Regions from separate parts of the Homo sapiens genome. Here region 1 is linked to region 2. The links are contacts of gene promoters, found by promoter capture Hi-C in blood cells and fetal thymus (Javierre and others, 2016). All regions are on one chromosome and are shown on one strand. The core of a region is centred on a gene start or on the middle of the fragment in contact, and the rest is flanking DNA. Distances in the headings are between cores, read along the strand shown.

The links. The method cuts DNA at HindIII sites, captures the fragments that hold promoters and counts their contacts. A CHiCAGO score of 5 or more calls a contact.
Region 1: a fragment that was not itself captured here is called in contact with the fragment with the promoter of TCP11L1 in region 2 in 1 of 17 cell types (erythroblasts); the score reaches 5.1 in erythroblasts.

The regions. Positions count from the first base shown.
Region 1 is chr11:33,747,418-33,751,573 of GRCh38, reverse strand. FBXO3 (F-box protein 3) reads left to right here. Exons shown (of 11, transcript NM_012175.4): 7 at 1-51; 8 at 913-1,035; 9 at 2,682-2,797. Among named protein-coding and RNA genes, the nearest start is that of CD59, 13 kb to the right of the region's middle. The HindIII fragment of the contact is 1,775 bases long and covers 1,316-3,090 here.
Region 2 is chr11:33,037,760-33,041,641 of GRCh38, reverse strand. It overlaps TCP11L1 (t-complex 11 like 1), which reads right to left and starts at 2,070. Exons shown (of 10, transcript NM_018393.4): 1 at 1,850-2,070. RefSeq lists enhancers at 1,250-1,569, 2,050-2,399, 2,120-2,667 and a silencer at 1,670-2,069. The HindIII fragment of the contact is 10,463 bases long and covers 1-3,882 here.

The DNA of each region.
Region 1 (4,156 bases), core at 954-3,453, 710 kb before region 2:
CAAAAATGTTGTATCAGGTGGCTTCCCCATCATCAGAGACCAAATTTTCAGGTATTTTATTTTGGGTCTTTTTGGATTGAAATGATTGTAAATCAGAGAAAAATGATAAGTCACAGATCATGAAATGAAGTTTCCCAAGAAGGTTGATAATAGAACCTCTCTATTGAGGTTGATAATAGAAGATTGTCTTCAGTCTCACTATTTTATTCTCACTTTAAAGCCAAACATCTAAATGCTTAGACAACTGGTATTTTTCCTATCCAGAAGAATCAAGAAAAAGCTGATTTTGATTTAGAAACTATGGGTTAATAGTATCTATATAATTTATTTTTGAAAAACACCAAAAAGTTATTTGGCAACTGATAGATTTATTATGAATAGCAAGTCGGTAACTGTTAATTCCTGGCAAATATTTATTATCTCTAAATGGAACATTCAGGTATTGTAGGGAGTACTGGAGGTAATACTGGTTCATAATAGCCTGGTTGGCAGAAATGATAGATTGATTATACATTAGAGGCTTCTGAGAACAGCATACTTGCACATTTTTATTGTCAGAGCCATCATTTAGCATTGGACATCATGCAGCTGGGTTTTCAGATGTCCCAAAAGTTTCCTTAGCCCTGGAAACTGAATAAGCTCATTTTTGTTTCCAAGCTAATTACCAATCCGTTATTTGAACCACTGATCATTGAACCTTGATTGCTGTCATTACTGATCCAGAGTCACCAAGGTTTTGTAGTTTGTTTCTAGTTTCCTTCAAAGTTTAATAGGACTATACCCAAATATTATTGAACTTTTCTGGGTCTGAAATATGATTTAAATTTTTTGTCCTAAAGTATAACCTATTTTGCATCGTATCTTTTAAATCCTGTAGTTGATTTTAAAATGTTTAATTTTTAAATTACCTAGATATGTTCACGATCCAGAATGTGTAGCAACAACTGGGGATATTACTGTGTCAGTTTCCACATCGTTTCTGCCAGAACTTAGCTCTGTACATCCACCCCACTATTTCTTCACATACCGAATCAGGTGAGAATTTTAAATGGGGTCACCTTTCAGTTAATGGTGGGATATATCCAATGGACATGTTGCTATTGTCCCATTTGACATGATATGTAAGACACATTTTGAAAGAACTTGCTGAAGTTTGGAGGAAGGTGGATACATTTTCTACAAGATAGTGTTCATGGAGGACTTTGACTTCATATTAACCTCTAAGTTAAGTTATTTCTTGAAAATATACTGGGTATCAAGTATTGTGCCAGGTACTGTGGAAATGGACCACTAAGTTGTAGTCGTCATTAAAGCTTCAAGTTGTAATGCATTCTAGAAGCTCTCAAATTGCCATAATAAAGTCATGCATTTTAAATTTCATCTGGCCTATTTATATTCAATTAAAAAATCTAATAAATGTGTATTGAGTGCTTCATGGATGTCAGACATAGTGTTAGACATTGAATTTTATTAAATAAGAAGCAAATATTTTAAATTTACGTTAGTTAGAAGTATTCTGTGCTATGACACAAAGATAACTCATTGCCCTAAGGGATTAAGGATACTGTGCTTTAAAATATATTTTTATATATTTTATGTAATATATAAGTATATTTTAAAATACACATACATGCATATATGCATACTGGAAGTATTTGAGTAAAATATAACTACCAGGAAGCATCCTAGGATTTAGATACTGTATGCAACCTTTGCTATATCCAAATACACATGTATAGATATTTGTCGTTTACTTGTTTGATTTAGATCCTGCCTAGGATTGAGATGTGCTCAAAATAAAAATACCAACACATACTTATAGGGTACTCAAAGTGAAAATAAGAGACACCAGATTCCTAGGGAAAGGGGAAAGTGATAGCATTGGGAAACAGAGTCAAAGTGTAATCCCAGGCTGGACACGGTGGCCCACGCCTATAATCGCAGCACTTTGGGAGGCTAAGGTGAGAGGATTGCTTGAGTTTGGGAGTTCAAGACCAGCCTGGACAACATAGTGAGACCTTGTCCTACAAAAATTTTTAAAAAAATTAGCCAGGTGTGGTGGCACATGCCTGTAGTCCCCAGCTACTAGAGGAGCTGAGGCGGAAGAATGGCTTCAGCCTAGGAGGTCAAGGCTGCAGTGAGCCCAAGATTACACCAGTGCACTCCAGCCTGGGTGGCAGAGTGAGACCCTGTCTCAAAAAAAAAAAAAAAAAGTGTAATCCCAGTAACTGGTGACATCTTGTCTTAAACTGTCTAGAAACTAATGGAAAAAAGGGAAATGGGTTGTATAGTCTCATGCAGTTAAAGAGAGACTTTCAGTTCTCCGGAAGTTTTTCATGGCACTATTTTCTAGAAAGCATTTGCCAAATTGATCTTTATTTGAACAGCGAAAGATTGTTGTCACCATTATGTTGCACATTTTATGTTGCCCTTTCTGTTGTTGATCCACACTGACAGTCAAATGCATAAGTTGAGTGAAAGCATTTTTGTAGGGGGATCAAGTTAATGAAGCCAGTATCTTTGAGAACTTAGAAAAATAGATGGCTAACATGGACTTTGGGTTGGGTTTCTTAATTTTTTGGAAATTTTTCTTCATAGTATTAGCCTGAATACTGTATCTCTTAAACCAAAGAAACAAAGAAGCCAGATTTTTGTCTCTACCACCCCATTCCCTTCTCTAGGATTGAAATGTCAAAAGATGCACTTCCTGAGAAGGCCTGTCAGTTGGACAGTCGCTATTGGAGAATAACAAATGCTAAGGGTGACGTGGAAGAAGTTCAAGGACCTGGAGTAGTTGGTATGGAACCCAAGATTTAGGTTTATACATTAATTCCTTAGAAGAAATGTTAGACTTTGCATCCTAAATATAACATATAAATGTATAAAGGTCGTTATCCTATTAATTTAATCCCTTAAGCATTAACTTTTCTGAAATAATAGCAAACTTAATTATTCAGGGATTGATTTCCCTTTTTGTGGATTTTATTTTATTTTTTTTAACTGGTTCATTATTCATTGTATGTTGTGGGTTAGAACACATAGGGCAGAAAGGGGGAAATAAATTTTGTATTCGTCATGTTTTTTGAAGCTTGGGGGGAAATGTTAAAATTAATGGCATGAATTTTTATTGTTTGTAGATTTCAGTCACTTTAATTCTGGTTACCATTGTCATTTGGCTTTCTTAAAGATTATGATTATCTGAAGTCTCTGAGCCCTCAGATGCTTCAGGTTTGAATATATGCTCCAGGAAAATAACATATTTATGCTATGTACTTCTGTTATCAGTTCTAAGCATATACAGAATTCAGTTTAACGTTTTCTAAATTCATTGCCATGGATAGATCTACATGTTTACTTAACAAATTTTTTTCCTGGGCTTCAGTCCAGGAATTTTTTCTGGATCTAGCGCTAAGAGAGAGGCTTTATTAAAGCCACAGTTCTTTTTCTGCCATTTGGTCCAGTGGTATAAGGACTCTCCCTTGTGAGTGCCATTTTGTCTGGTCTGAATGCTTAGGATGCATCTTCACAATTTTATGTTTTTGTTTCTTGCTACTTTAAAAATATTTAGATTACCTTATCTTTGTTTGAACTGGTGTCTGTGATGCTTTTTATTACTCATGTCTTAAAGGTTGTGTCTTCAATGCCTCAAAGCTTTTTGAAAAAGAAACATGCCTGTTCTGTTTTTTTTTTTTTTTTTACTAGATACTTCCCACTTTCTACATTGTAGGGAATTTGAGGAATACATTAAAAAAATGTTGAGAGGGCTAAGCGCAGTGGCTCACGCCTGATATCCCAGAACTTTGGGAGGCCAAGGTGGGCGGATCACCTGAGGTCAGGAGTTTGAGACCAGCCTGGCCAATGTGGCAAAACCCTGCCTCTACTAAAAATACAAAAATGAGCTGGGCATCATGGCAGGTGCTTGTAATCCCAGTTACTCAGGAGGCTGAGGTGGGAGAATAGCTTGAGCCCAGGAGGTGGAGTTTGCAGTGAGCTGAGATCACGCCACTGCACTCCAGCGTGGGCAACAGAGCAAGACTCTGTCTCAAAAAAAAAAAAAAAGTCAAGAGGAATAAAATACCTACTCATTGTCCTATCACTGTTAACATTTTGTTACATTTTCTTTTGGAATTTTTTTTTCTAACTGTGCATTTACTAT
Region 2 (3,882 bases), core at 821-3,320:
GTAGCTGGGATTATAGGCGCCCACCACCACGCCTCGCTAATTTTCGTATTTTTAGTAGAGATGGGGTTTCACTATGTTGGCCAGGCTTGTCTCGAACTCCTGACCTCTAGTGATCCGCCCGCCTCAGCCTCCCAAAGTGCTGGGATTATAGGCGTGAGCCACTGCACCTGGCCCAGGCCTGTATTAATATGAAAGTTGTTTTCATGTATTTTCCCTTTCGAGACCCATCTTAGCTTCCAACACCCCACTGGAGACACCCATCTCCTCTGTGTCCTAAATCCTATTAGGGTCAGGAAATGCTCCAAGATCCAAAGGATAACATTACCAGCATATTCTGTGAGAAACGACAAACAAAACGCTGCTAATTTTATTATCTTCACATGCTGAGAAGGAGCCCAGGAGGGATGAAGTAATTCATTCTGTGCAGTGAGGAGGAAAGGGAGGATTTCTAGGTCTCTAATGCTCAGCTTAGTAAACTAACCCCATCCTTAAGATTGAGTTCAAGTCCTGTCTCTTCCCAGGACACTTCCCGGACCTCACCAGTGATTGCACCTTTCTCAACTCCTGCAGGGCTGGCTAGTTGACATTTGGCATTTGTCACTGCCTTAAATTCAATTCAAAGCGTGCTTATTTAAATAGAAAGATGCAAATACATAGTCTAGAGGGGGAGGCAGACAGGCTTACAAGGAGCCATAATGAAACTTAAGTGGCATTATGAAATTGCCCAGGGAATATAGCAGAGGAAGAAACTAACTCTGCCTGGGAGGAGATTGAGAAAACCTTCCCAGAAAAGATGACATTTGAACTGATCTTTAAAAGGAGTAGGATTTCACCTAGTTAAAACATGTCTGGAGGGGGAGAGGAGGGGGAGAGGAGGTGAAAAGGAGGGCATTTCACTCAGAGGGCAGAAGCCAAGGCACAAGAAAATGAGAAAAGGAAGTGGCTAGAGATGATGGAAAGATGCGTTGGGGCCAGATGGTAAAAGTGCTAGTTTTTATTTTAAAATTCCCCACCTAGATTTCGAACTTCTTAAGAGCCAGGACCAGTCATATTCCCCACTTATGCTCCATCTGTATATCCCCCAAATAGACACCCACAAGTATCTGTTGATAGAGATGAATCCCTACGTCATCTCTGTGATGTCACTGTATCTGGGAGGCTGGGCGTTGGTTTCAGACATACCTGGGCCCCAATTCTGGCTCTTTACTAGCTGTGTAACTTCAGTGTCCTCCTCTGTAAAACACAGCTACCTACCTGCTCGGTTTGGGGGGAGATGAAACGAGGGATTGTGCACGGCAGGCCTTCTACAAATGGTAACTCTAATTAAAGGGCTCTAGGATGCGGCCACGAACCATTTAATTTGCTTATATCGCGCGCATCCATTCAACCCCCACTGTGTCTAAAAAGAGAGCCGAGGGGAGGAGGATCCTCGCACTTGCCAAGAAGACGGTCATCCGTCGGCGCTGCACGCGGGCCTAGGCTGGACACAAGAGGCTCCCCAGCAGAAAGGGTCTTTCGGCAAAAGAAAAAAGGGGCTCTGTCCCCCGGCGCCGGGAATCCCCTCCTCTGGCACTGAGCTCCACTCGCGCCCGGCGTCCGGATTCCGTTGTAAACAGCTGTTCAGGCCAGCGAGGGAGTGGCAGGGCCGGGAGTAGGGGAGGACGCGGGCGCGCCGAGAGGACAGCCTCGAGGGGTGAGCTCCACCCGCCCGCGGACCCCGCCTCTTCCTCGCCTGCCCCCGACATCCCGGGATGGGATCCGACGGGAAGAGGCGAAGAGATGCCTGCGACTTGGACCGCGCGCCTCCCGGACGGGCCCCGCCAGCCTCCGCCCCAGCTCCCGCTCTCACCTGCCACGGAGTCGGCGTTCTCCCTCCTGCCGCTCCCGCCGCGAATCAGGCGCGGGCTGGCGCCGCGGCGGAAGCCGGAGGGATGCGCGGCAGGCAGGGGCGGTTCAGCCTCTGCCCCTCCGAGGCCGCATCCCTCGCCACGCGGCGGGCGGTCCTCCCAGCCCGACTCGGGTGGGCAGCGGTCAGAGCGGCCGCTTCTCAGCATCAGGAAGGAGGAGACTGCTCTTGGCCGGGAGGCGCCAGCCCAATATAGGGCAGCGCCATGTCTTCGTACGGAAAGGCGGGAGGGTCTTTCCCCTGCTTGCCGAAGGGGTTCAGTAAGCGGTGACTCGCAGCTGGGCGGCGCCGTGTTTCCTCAGGGAGAGGTGGAAAACATGGCCGATGACCGCTCAGGGGGCTCCGTGGCCAGTGGCTCCCAGCCAAGAGTCGCCCGCCGCACGCAGTGAGGCGCCATGTTTTCGTACGGAAACGCGAGAGGCATGGCCGAGTGCCCGCCGATGAGTCTCAGCTGGCGGTGGCTCGAAGCTGGGGATGGCCCGCCCCTAGGCGCCATGTTTCCATACGGAAAGACGGAACGCGCGCCGCATCCCAGCCGCTGGTGCGGGTGACGCGAGGAGAAAGGGAGGCGGAGAAGGCGCGGGTCAGTCAAAAGAAGGAATAAGAAGCCATTGCATCTGAAACCTTCCCCGCCCGTTCTTTGAAATTTAATTTTGCCATCCTGTTTGTAGCTACACAAAGTTTATTCCCCTTCTCTCATTTCCTCAGCTTTAAAAAAAAGTTAGTCCGGGCGCAGCAGCTCACGCCTGTAATCCCAGCACTTTGAGAGGCCGAGGCGGGCGGATCACGAGGTCAAGAGATCGAGACCATCCTGGCCAACATGGTGAAACCTCGTCTTTACTAAAAATACGAAAATTAGCTGGGTGTGGTGGCGCGCGCCTGTAGTCCCAGCTACTCGGGAGGCTGAGGCAGGAGAATCGCTTGAATCTGGGAGGCGGAGGTTGCAGTGAGGCGAGATCGCGCCACTGCACTGCGGCCTGGAGACAGACCGAGACTCTGTCTCAAAAACAAACAAACAAAAAAAAACTACAAAAAAGCAGATGGGGTGACATTGGTGCTTTCAAACACTGCTTCTAAATAGATCACATGTGGGTAGTTATTGCTAACGTATTGAAGGCCGAGTGCAATACCAGACCCTCAAACCATTTACTAACTTGCACATTAAAGTCTTTGCTTTAAAAAAAAAAAAAAAAAGACAAAAACAGAAGTTCTCTGGTGAAGATTCACTTTTTGGAGGAAAAAACACCAAAAACCCTTAAGATACTCAACTAAATGGAACTGTTAAGATCTACAAAGAATGGCTGGGCGCGGTGGCTCACACCTGTAATCCTAGCTCTTTGGGAGGTCGGAGGTGGGTGGATCACAAGGTCAGGAGTTCGAGACCAGCCTGGCCAATATGGTGAAACCTCGTTTCTACTAAAAATACAAAAAAATTAGCCGGGCATGGTGGCATATGCCTGTAATCCCAGCTACTTGGGAGGCTGAGGCAGGAGAATTGCTTGAATCCGGGAAGCAGAGGTTGCAGTGAGCCGGGATCGCACCACTGCACTGCAGCCTGGGTGACAGAGTGAGATTCCGTCTGAAAAAAAAAAAAAAGATCTGCAAAGAAAACATGCAGTTCTTCTGAGTCTAAACTCGTACCATTAAGTCTCTAGTGTTTTTCAGCCCTGACTACAAATACAACTTGGAATCTCAGGGGCAGGGGTTGGAAAAGTATCATCCAAAACTCCGGGGAGGGTGATGCCAGACAAGTTTTAAAAGCTCCCTGGGGAAGCAGGCTAGAACCTTCCTTAAAAGATTAATATGGCTGGGTGCAATGGCTCACGCCTGTAATCCTAGCTCTTTGGGAGGTCGAGGCGGGCGGATCACCTGAGGTCAGGGGTTCAAGACCAGCCTGGCCAACATGGCAAAACCCCGTCTCTACTAAAAATACAAAAATTAGCTGGGCATGGTGGCAGGCGCTTGTAATCCCAGCT